4 separate regions of the Homo sapiens genome follow, and regions 1, 3 and 4 are each linked to region 2. The links are contacts of gene promoters, found by promoter capture Hi-C in blood cells and fetal thymus (Javierre and others, 2016). All regions are on one chromosome and are shown on one strand. The core of a region is centred on a gene start or on the middle of the fragment in contact, and the rest is flanking DNA. Distances in the headings are between cores, read along the strand shown.

Region 1 (2,886 bases), core at 191-2,690, 1.1 Mb before region 2:
TACAAAGGCCTGACCCCCACGGGGGCATCTGAGGTCAGCCTCGAGCCCCCTAAGGCTGGGAACCCTGTATTTTCCTGTGGTGACTCACTTCCTGTTGGGGCCTTGGTTTTTGAAAGACAGAAACAGCTCAGAGTCTGCTCCATGGAAATGGCTGGGCCTGCCCACCAGACCCTTAAAGCGACAGTTTTCCCACGGCAGGGCTTGTCCTGGGAGGTCCCTGGTGGCGAATGGGGTGCTGACAAACGGGCCCAGAACTTCTTGAGTCAGGATTTGAAGCGAGGGGGGTCTGCTGCCAGATTCCACAGCTCAGACACGTCCTCTTTTCCCCACCCGGATTTTCAGTTCCCCTGAGGAACCACCTCTCCGTCTCCGAGTGCCCAGTCTGGTTCACTGAGCCATTTGTGCCCAGAAGGACCTGTAGTGCTGGGCATTTACTTGCTAACCTTGTTTAACTCACTGCCCTGTCTGGGCTCCGCTGCCTTTTGTCTCAAACTGGGTGATAAAACCCCAAGTTAATTGTGAAAATGCATCCTGTTTGCTTGGGGTGGTGCATTCAGATGCTGGCAGCCTGAGACCACAGCGATTCGCAGAGTGCACATCTGTTTAAGGACACTTGAACCTGTGTATTTAAAAACAGACCAGGTTGACCCACCAAGCACATCTGTGGACAGGGCTGTCTTTGGCTTCTCTTGGGTCAGGACACCTGGGAAAATGGGCAGGTACGCTTCCATGCTCCTTCGGAAACAGCTCTCTGGGCCTCACTATCCCCATCTCTAAAATGGGCTCCCTCGCCTGTCCTGGATCTGGGGTTCTGGGCTGGAATGCTCAGGAATCAGTGAACTGTACTCGCAGGTGCTTATTCTCTGGGTTTAGAACCTGCTCCCCCCGCCCCAAACATCTTCCCGTTTCCACACTACCAGGTGGGGTCCTGGTGGTGCCCTGGGCCTGCCCTTCGGGGCTCTGTTCTATAGGACCCTAGGGCTCTTGGTTGTGGCTGTAATCCTGTTATCCTTTGGCAGCAGACAAATCTATGGCTGTGTGCAAAGCAGGCTCTAGCTTCTCTGTAGGCAGGAGAGTGGGGACAAGACAAACTGGAAGTCCACCAATCCTGCAAGAATTCATGAAATGCCCACAGTGGGATGCGAGGGGCCAGTCACCACAGTCGTCTTGATAAGCCCATTCCCCAGCCGGCTCCTGGGTGCTTTCCATGCACATCCCCAAGGGACGTGTTTGTGCCTGTTTTGCTGATGCTCAGAAAGGTGGAGTGATTTGTGTGAGATGTCCAGTTGCGACTCTCACTTAGGATTTTCTCTCTGTAAGGTCCAGGCCCTCTTCCCCTGTGCAACATTTCCTTACCTGATCCTATCAGAGCACAACCCTTGCTTCCGTGGAGCATGTGATCCAGGAGAATGACATGTGGGGTCACTTTTATGTGTTTAACTTGGCTTTTTATTCACTCCAGATAAACGGTGGTGGTTCCCTGTGTAAGCAGAGAGAGAGAGAATAGTTTCCTGTTGATGCTTTTTCCACTGAATTATGCCTTTTAAAAAAATTTAATTTAATTTAATTTTTTTGAGACAGTGTTGCTCTGTTGCCCAGGCTGGAGTACAGTGGTGCAATCTTGGCTCACTGCAGCCTCTGCCTCCCAGGTTCAAGTGATTCTTCTGCGTCAGCCTCTTCAGTAGCTGGGATTACAGGCGCCTGCCACCACGCCCAGCTAATTTTTGTATTTTTAGTAGAGACGGAGTTTCACCATGTTGGCCAGGATGGTCTTGAACTCCTGACCTCAGGTGATCTGCCCATGTCAGCTTTCCAGAGTGCTGGGATTACAGGCGTGAGCCACTGTGCCTGGCCTAAAATTTTAGTGTTTTTTTTTTTTTTGAGATGGAGTTTGGCTCTTATTGCCCAGGCTAGAGTGCAGTGGCGCAATTTCGGCTCACTGCAACCTCCGACTTCCGATTTCAAGCAATTCTCCTGCCTCAGCCTCCCAAGTCGCTGGGATTACAGGCGCCCGCCACCACGCCCAGCTAATTTTTTTGTATTTTTAGTAGAGACGGGGTTTTACCATGTTGGTGAGGCTGGTCTCAAACTGCTTACCTCATGATCCACCCGCCTTGGCCTCCCAAAGTGCTGGGATTACAGGCATGAGCCACTACTCCTGGCCTAAAATTTTAATTAAAATTTTTTTTGAGACAGGGTCTCAACTATGTTGTCCAGGCTGGCATCAAACTCCTAGATTCAAGTGATCTTGTTTCCTCAGCCTCCTGAGTAGTTGGGACTACAGGTGCACACCACTGTGGCGGGCTCCAAATTATGCTTTTTCTTTATGAGAAAAATAGAATTCTTTATTAAGGTGGCTGGTTTAGAATACTAAAGAAAATACGACAGGACTAAACAAAATAATGCCGATGCGCAGTCTCTGGAGACAGGCTGCCTGATTGAATCCTGGCCCCACCACTTACTGAGTTGTGTGACCCTAAGCAAAATGCCCCCCCACTTTTTTTTTGAGACAAGGTCTCGCTGTGTTACCTAGGCTGAAGTGCAGTAACACAATCATAACTCACTGCAGCCTCAGACTCCCAGGCTTAAGCAATCCTCCCACCTCAGCCTACCGAGCTGGGACTACAGGTGTGCATTACCAGACCCATCTAATTTATTTTTTGTAAAGATGAGGTTTCATACCCTCTTCACACCTAAGTGCTATTTCTTTGCAAATTATAGTTCTAACACAAATCCAAAGGGATTTTGGGAAACTGATCGGAAGTACTGTATTCATGTTTGGCTCAAAGAATTCACAGCTGAGAATAGCTAAATAAATTTTGAGATAAAACAGAATTAAGGTCAGGCACAGTGGCTCACACCTGTAATGGTAGCACTTTGGGAGGC
Region 2 (2,700 bases), core at 40-2,539:
CTCGAGCCAAGGGGCCGTGGAGAGTCCTTCACCCCTACACGCGCGCGTGCACACACACGTGCACACACACACGCACACACACATGTTCACACACACACACCCTCTCTCACGCGCGCCGTGTGCAATGCTGAATTCTGGAGAGTAGGCGCGTCCCCCCGCGGGCCAGCGCGTAGGAGCTGGCAAAGAACGTGCGTAGGGGGAAAGGTAGGCTCCCAAGAAGCTCCCAGACGGACGTGGACTGTACAGCCCCTCCCTAGCCTTTCTACTGCGGGCGCTGTTGCCAAGTCCTAGGTGCACGTGGGCAGTGGGCCGCACACGCTCATAGGCACGCGCGCTTTTCTGCGCACTTCCTCAGACTGCTGTAGCGGTGCCCACGGCCAGCCGGAGTCCTCACATGTCCTCAGGTGGTGCACACGCATGAACTGCGGCAGGTGCACAGCCCTGCGTACCTGCAAATACCAGCACGGTCGTGCACGCGTGCCCTGACGCGCGCCTCTCGGGACGGACGCTGCTGGAGCCGGGGGAAGTTGAGGCGAACTCCAAGAGGCCTCGACGTTCCTGGGTAAGCGCCGCGGAGCGCGGAGCCGCAGCGCCCCCTGGTGCCCCTCCTGCACTTCGCCGCTGGGCTCCCTCCCGCTTTCCCTCTCCCTCTCTAGCCTGATCCCTCTCCCGCTCTCCCTCCGGTCGAGTCTCCCTCCTCCCCGGCCCAAGGAGCCCTGATCTCCCTCTGGGACGTACCTGTAGCCCGAGAAGGTCGAGGATGCAGTGGGGCGCGCTGCGCGCACGAGCATCTCGGCCGCCTCAGCAGCCACCGGGTTTAGCGGGTTCCCGCATGCTGCGGCCCCAGCGCGCTCCCCTGGCTGTCCCGCGCTGTCCGCATCGCCCCCACGGGGGGCGGCTATCCCAGCCGGAGGCTCTGCAGCAGGGCTCTAACGGGGCGGAGGAGAGAAGGAGAGGCAGGGTCAGCCCACCAACGAGGGGAGGGAGGGTTGAGGGGAAGGCTGCAGTCTGCAGTGCTCACAAGCCCCCCTATGCGCCCAGGGGGGCTAGACAAGAGGGGGGAAGCTGAAGCCCGATGCCCACGACGCCCCCAGTGCGGATCCTCAGCCCCTGTGGCTGATAGCGGGAGCTCCACTCCAGGGTGCACAGGAGAATGGGAGCCCCAGGTTGGCCACCCACGAGAAGCTAACTGGGCACCTCCACCCGCACCCCCTACCACCTCCCCAGCGCCGGCTGCTGGGAGTTGTGCGACCGGGAGCTGCTGAGCGAGGGAGGTAGGGAGAGAAAGAGGAGGTAACGAGGGTGGGGGGGCGCTGGCTGAGTTTGTGACGAGCCAGCAGTAGGAGAGGGGGAGGGAAGGACGCGGGCTCCCGCGGTCCCGGTTCCCCGAGGGAGGTGGATCTTTCCCACGCAGCGACCCTCTTGTGATCCTGCCGCTTCCTCCCTCTTCAGGCCTCCCACCTCCCCCCTTCCCAAGGGGGCCTCCCAGGCCCGGCGTCCCGCGCTAGCACTCACCGCAGCCTCTCTCCACATAGTTCTCAGCAGTGGCCGCTCCTGGTCATCTCCAGGGCTGATGGCTGCGGCCGCGATTCTCAGCGCTCACCCGGTCCCATGATCCGGCCAAGCCCTAGGAGCTCCCCTCCAAGATCCCTAGCTCCGCTTCCTGCCCCACTCCGGACGGCAACTGCCCGGTCCTCTGAGCGCGCCGGAGCACCCTCTCCGCAACCCAGCTCCGGGCTGGTGTGTTTGAGGGCGAGTGTGTGTGTGAGTGTGGGAGCGCGCTCGCGTGTGGCCGGGGATCCCCGCGGTCCCCGGCCGAGAGAGGCGCGGGCGGGGAAAGGCAGCTCCCTCCGGGCCCTTCGCTGCTGGGCCAGCTCCGCGCCGGGCGTTCGGCTCCCCACTTCCCAGCGGGAGTCCGGTGAGCGCCTGGACACCCTGGTTCACAGCACTGGCAAAGCCGGGTTCCCGGGGCGTCTTTCTGCTGCGGTCGCCTCCGAGGAAGAGGAGAAGGAAGGTAGCGGCGCCCTCCACACCAACTTAGGGACTTGTTCTCAGCCGGCGAGACGCAGTAGCCCCCGCTCAAGCCCAAGAGGCTTCGAGCTCCGGCGGGCGAAAGCGTCTCCTGCCCGCAGCCTCTCTCCTAGGTGGGTCGAGACAGACCCCGCAGTCCCTCGGCGGCGACGCGGAGCGCGGCCACCCGTTCCGAGAGCGCACGGCGGCAAATAAGGCCAGGATAGGTGGCTGGCTGGCGACGGGGGCGCCTGCGGCGGCGCGCGCTGCTGTCCGTGGTGTTGGAACCACGCTCTCCGCCCGCTCCCGGGCGTCTGGTGCGGCTGAAGAATCAATTATTCAGATCTCTGCTACCGCTTCCTCCTCCCCCAGTGCCTCGCGCTGGGTACAGTTATCCCCCTCCACGCACAGGCGCGCCGACACACACACACACACACACACACACACACACACACACACAGAGTCTGCTCCAATGCTTCTCCCTGTGCCTCGCCACCCCCGTACGGGAACCCACTCCTCTGATCTCAGGGAGCCAGAATCCTAAAAGCAAAGACATCTGCATTTCCCACATGCTTCCTTCTAAGTTCTACCAAACAGAAGCCTCCCTGAGGCTGCCACTTCTAAGCTACCAGAAGAGGTGAGCCAGAGAACATGGGACGGCCCGGGTGTGTGAGGGCTTGGTTGACTTGA
Region 3 (2,700 bases), core at 30-2,529, 1.0 Mb before region 2:
TTCTCCTGCCTCAGCTTCCCAAGTAGCTGGGATTACAGGTGCCTGCCACCACGCCAGGCTAATTTTTGTATTTTTAGTACAGACGAGGTTTCAGCATGTTGGCCAGGCTGGTCTCAAACTCCTGACCTCAGGTGATCTGCCAGCCTCAGCCTCCCAAAATGTGGGGATTACAGGTGTGAGCCACTGCACCCCATGACAAGTCTGTTTTCTGAAAAAAGGAAACAGTCAAATGATCTCATAGGATTGCAGTCATAATGAAAACAGGAATAACATAATCAAGAGCACATTGGGGGCGCTTGAGAAATATTCCTCCTTCCCAGACACAAGGGTGCGCTGAGTCCTCCAAATGTGCTCGAGGGTGCATGCTTTGAACTAGAGATGCCTTTTTCCAGAAGAAATCACTCTGGTGAACTGGTGGTGGTCCATGATAGCCCATTACATTGCATTTTTAAGGCTGAGAACATTTTCATTAGGAAATATTTCAAACCTTCAGAAAAGTACAAGAAATAATATGACACCCGTGTATGTACCCTAGAGAGTTAATAGATGTTAGCATTTTGTCACGCTTGCTTCAGATCTCTCTTTTACAGAAGGAAGAAAGTGTTACAGATACACTGAGGCGAAACTGTTAATTAAGAATGTAGCTGAACTCTGGTTCCGATGAGGAATTCTGGGCCAGGCCTTTGTGGGTACTAGGGATGTGAGTGAGTTCTCTGGCTTCTGTGAGCTCATCCTCCAGCCGGGAAGGCAGACTCATGAACGGACGATTGTCCTACAATGGGACAAGTGCTGCACTGGTGAAATATACAAGAGCAATGGTGGTGGTGGGGAGTGTGAGAGGTCAGAGAGGGCTTCCTGGAGGAGGTGACATCTAAGATGTACCTTGAAAAAGTGAGTAGATGGTGGGTGTGGTGGCTTTTGCCTGTAATCGCAGTACTTTGGGAGCCCGAGGCAGGTAGATTGCTTGAGCCCAGGAGTTTGAGACCAGCCTGGGAAACATAGCGAAACCAAGTCTATAATAAAAATACAAAAATTAGCCAGGTGTGGTGGCACATGCCTGTAGCCTCAGATACTTGGGAGGCTAAGGTGGGAGGATTGCACTCCAGCCAGGGCAACAGTGAGGCCCTGTATTTAAAAAAAAAAAAAAAAAAAAAAAGGAAAAGAAAATAAAAAGTGAATGGAATTTTGTTGGGCAGACAAAGGGAGAGGTGGGCTTTCTGGGGGAAGGGGCATCATATGTAAAGGCGGGGAAGCTGGAAAAGGTGTGTGAACTGGGATTATGATACACAGGGTAGTGCAGCTTTTTTTCTTCCTTTGAGACAGGGTCTTGTTCTGTTGTCCAGGTTGGAGTACTGTGGCACGATCTCAGCTCACTGCAGCCTAGACCTCCTGGGTTCAAACAATCTTCCCACCTCAGCCTCCCCAGTAACTGGGACCATAGACACGCACCACCATGGCCAACTAATTTTTGTATTTTTTTTTTTGTAGAGATGGGTTTTGGCATTTTGCTGAGGCTGGTCTCAAACTCCTGGCCTCAAGTGATCCGCCCTCCTTGGTCTCCCAAAGTGCTGGGATTATAGGCGTGAGCCACTGTGACTGGTCTGGGTGGTGCAACTTCTGTCTTTTTGAACTGTGAGATGTATCTGTTTCCTATGACTGCCGTAACAAATTATCACACACCAAGTAGCTTAAAATAACAGGAATTTATTCTCTCACAGTTCTGGAGGCTGGAAGTCTGAAAGCAAGGTGTGGGCAGGACCATCCTCTTTCTGAAGACTTAGGAGAGCATCGTGCTTTGCTTTTTCCTGGCTCTTGGTGGCTGCCAGCAGTCCTGGAGTTTCTTTGCTCGTAGATGCGTCACTGCAACCTTTGCATCTGTCATCACTGGCCTCTTCCCTCGGTGTCTCTGTCTCTTCTCCTATTTAGTTATTTGAGACAGAGTCTTCCTCTGGTGCCCAGGCTGGAGTGCAGTGGCATGATCTTGGCTCAATGCAACCTCTGCCTCCCAAGAAGCTGGCACTACAGGTGCATGCCACCATGCCTGGATAATTTTTTGTATTTTTAGTAGAGACAGGCTTTTGCCATGTTGGTCAGGCTGGTCTTGAACTCCTCACCTCAGGTGATCCACCTGCCCTGGCCTCCCAAAGTACTGGAATTACAAGCATGAGCCACCACGCCTGGTCTTACCCTCTTCTTGTAAGGACATCAGTCATAATGGATTAAGGACCCACACTACTTTGGTATGAGCCCATCTTAATGTAACTAATTATAGCTGCAAAGACCCTATTTCCAGATAAGGTCACATTCTGAGGTGCTGCAGATAGGACTTCAATGTATCTCTTTTGGGTGACACAATTAAACCCGTAACAGACGCTTTGCATGTAGCTAGACAGAGATCACTCCTGCCCCACATACTTCATGGAAGACCTGGCCTCTTCATTTCGGGGTTCCTTTCTTGGAAGCAAGCTCTAGAAAGAGGTTGAGCTTTGGAACAGTTTCAGGGAGGCCCAGCTAGTTTTTATTAACCTCCTCAGTGAGCCCCAACATTGGGTTCATCCTGCAATAGGATGGGAAGGGGAGATGATGGAGACTGTGACAGAAATACCAGAAAAAGAGGATACCCCAGAGGGCTGCATCAACATCAGAGGAAGAGGTGATGTGGCTCCCTCTGGATGAAGCTGGCTGTGAATCTCCTTACAG
Region 4 (2,700 bases), core at 109-2,608, 1.6 Mb before region 2:
CAGAGAGAGCTGAACGCATTACAGGGCCCAGGAGGTAGGGCACCCTCTCCCTTTCCCAGACCCACCAAGGAGCTGATCCAAGGGACATGGGTGAGGAGGAAATGAAGTCGGAGGGGGCGTGAGGACTTTGCAATCTGTAAAGCTCTGTGTGTGATTAAAGGATCGTTTTTATTTCTCGCGAAGCGGTTTGGCACTCCCTCGGGCTCCTCCAGGCCACACGGACACACACGGACATAAGCACACAGGTACTAGGATAACAGCCAGGCCCCAAGCTTAGTCCGCGGGGATTTGTGGGGGAAGGAGGGGGGTGCCTGGCCTCCCCGAGTGGCCTTTGAGGAAGAAGAGGCCGCAGCCGATGGAGATCGGTCGGTGAAGCTCCGGGGCCAAGCCCCTCCCTCCCCTCCACGACCCAGCGCCCAGGCTCATATGGCCTGGTCCTGCCTCCGTCTCAGGCTGAGCTCGCGGGCTGCTGCCAGGAAGGCTGCCCCGGTGAGCAGCTCGGCGATGAAGCTGATCCAGCCCAGGGCCAGGGACCAGCCGAAGCTGATGTCCACCTGGTCCAGGAGGGCCTTCTCCTCCAAGAGACACAGCGCCTCCCGGAAGGCGGCGGCTGAATACGCTATGTAGACGCTGATCCCAGCGAGGGTCACCATGGCTGCAGGGAGGGCAAAGGGAGAGCAGATCAATCCCCCACCCCGCCCCAGCACTCCCCTCCTCCTCCTCGCCCTGCCCAGCCACGCTGCTCAGCGTCCAGCGTCCTCGCTCCTTCCTGCTGCGGGACCTTTGCGCGTGCTAGTCTCCCCGCTGGGTGCATTCACCCCTGCTTCTCTGCCTGTCATCGGCAACTCCTACCCTTCCCACACATGGCAGCTCACGCTTCGATTCCTGGACTTGCCTGAGCAGTGATTCCACAGCACCATACAGCTGCCCATCACTGCCCAGGTCACAATTGCAACTTTGCATTCTTTTGTGTAATTTTTTTTTAGACAGAGTCTCGCTCTGTCGCCCAGGCTGGAGTGCAGCGGTGCGATCTCAGCTTGCTGCGATCTCAGCTTGCTGCAACCTCCACCTCCCGGGTTCAAGCTATTCTCCTGCCTCAGCCTCCTGAGTAGCTGGGAATACAGATGCCCGCCACCGCGCCCGGCTAATGTTTGTATTTTTAGTAGAGACAGGGTTTCACCATATTGGCCAGACTGGTCTCAAACTCCTGACCTCAAGTGATCCGCCTGTCTCTGCCTCCTAACGTGCTGGGATTGCAGGCATGTTTGTGTAATTATTTAACTAACATCTGTCTCCCCCAGTGGCCTGTGAGTGTCCAGAGGGCAGACATGCTCCTGTTGGTTTTGCTCATTTTCAATTCCCCAGCACCGAGAACGGTGCCTGGCCCACGGTGGTTCTCCACAGATATTAGATTTGAGCCACATGGTCCAGTACGATAGCCACTGACCAGTTACACATGGCTATTTAAATTTAAGTTAACTAATCTAAATGAAGTTAACAGCTCAGTCCCCCATCAGCACTCACTGCCCTGGCCTGGTTTGCAGCTCCCGATGCTCGGCATGGATTAGGGAACTTCTCCACCATCACAGAAACTTCTACCAGGCAGTGCTGGTTTCGAGAATTTGTCACTGGGTGAACTATTAATGCTAATAGTAATAATAATAGTGAGTGGTTAGAGGAGATGAGAACTTTGCAATATTTTCACCTCCAGACATCCCTTTTGTTTTTTTTCCTCTGTGGATTCCAAGGGAGCATGTCATCACTGCTTTTTTTTTTTTTTAAAAGGAACATTTCAAATACACAGGGATACAGACAGCCTTTAAGGCAGCCAGCCACGTGCCAGGTCCCATTTTTCAAAACCTCTGGTCCACTAAACCAACCAGTGGTGTTAACCTAGCCATTGTCTGTCCACCTGTTGTTTTGTTTCATCTTGTTTTTGTGTGTGCTGCTGTTTAATTGACAAGTAAAAATTGTATGTATTTACGGTACACAGCATGAGGATTTGATATGTGTGTGTACACTGTGGAGTGGCTCGGTCAAACTATTCAACACAGGCACGGCCTCACATACTTAGCATTTCTTTTGTGTGTGGTGAGAACTAAAATCTACTCTCAGCGATTTTCAAGAACACAATAGGCTGTTGTTAACTGCTGTCACCATGACGCCCAATAGATCACTGAACTTCCTTCTTTTCAGCTGAAATTGTGTGTTCTTTGACCAACATCTCCCCACCCTCCCCTGCCCCCACCCCCAGCCTGTTCCATTCTCTCTTTCTGTGAATTTGACTCTTCTAGATTCTACATAGAAAGATCATGAGGTGTTTGTCTTTCTGTGCCTGGTCATGCCCGTTTTTTAGTCGATCAAAGCAGTATCTATCAGAATGGCTGATCAGCAGAATAGAGCGAGGGTGGCTGGAGCGAGGGTCTCCTGCCAGCTCACAGCCCTAAAGCTTGAAGCTATCACGAGTTTGGGCAAAGGTAATACATGCGGCTTCTTTGGTGAAGTAATGAAAAGGATTCTTGGAAGCTGCTCCCTCTGCACTGCTCCTGTCTTGGAACCAGAGACTAAGTGATTCTGGGCTGGAAACCACTCATCTCTTCCAACTGATATCCCAGAAGGGGAAACTGAACCCCACGAGGCCCTGGGATCCCCCTCGTTTGCTGAGGGTTCATACACAGTACCCATTGCCCAACCCCCAGA

The links. Contacts are between HindIII fragments. The CHiCAGO score rates a contact against its expected background, and 5 or more counts as called.
Region 1: a contact is called between a fragment that was not itself captured here and the fragment with the promoter of GRIN2A in region 2, in 1 of 17 cell types (M0 macrophages). The highest score is 5.8, in M0 macrophages.
Region 3: a contact is called between a fragment that was not itself captured here and the fragment with the promoter of GRIN2A in region 2, in 3 of 17 cell types (endothelial precursors, M2 macrophages and M0 macrophages). The highest score is 8.0, in endothelial precursors.
Region 4: a fragment that was not itself captured here is called in contact with the fragment with the promoter of GRIN2A in region 2 in 7 of 17 cell types (naive CD8 T cells, non-activated CD4 T cells, total B cells and 4 more); the score reaches 14.3 in naive CD8 T cells.

Annotation. Positions count from the first base shown.
Region 1 is chr16:9,127,723-9,130,608 of GRCh38, forward strand. No RefSeq gene overlaps it. Among named protein-coding and RNA genes, the nearest start is that of HAPSTR1, 38 kb to the left of the region's middle. RefSeq lists enhancers at 1-515, 1-184, 165-274, 345-424. The HindIII fragment of the contact is 4,774 bases long and covers 1-2,886 here.
Region 2 is chr16:10,181,139-10,183,838 of GRCh38, forward strand. GRIN2A (glutamate ionotropic receptor NMDA type subunit 2A) reads right to left here and starts at 1,290. Exons shown (of 13, transcript NM_001134407.3): 1 at 739-1,290. RefSeq lists silencers at 378-487, 498-557. The HindIII fragment of the contact is 14,826 bases long and covers 1-2,700 here.
Region 3 is chr16:9,180,380-9,183,079 of GRCh38, forward strand. No RefSeq gene overlaps it. Among named protein-coding and RNA genes, the nearest start is that of HAPSTR1, 90 kb to the left of the region's middle. The HindIII fragment of the contact is 4,120 bases long and covers 1-2,700 here.
Region 4 is chr16:8,569,351-8,572,050 of GRCh38, forward strand. TMEM114 (transmembrane protein 114) reads right to left here. Exons shown (of 4, transcript NM_001146336.2): 4 at 150-655. The coding sequence ends at 423. Among named protein-coding and RNA genes, the nearest start is that of TMEM114, 20 kb to the right of the region's middle. The HindIII fragment of the contact is 2,177 bases long and covers 271-2,447 here.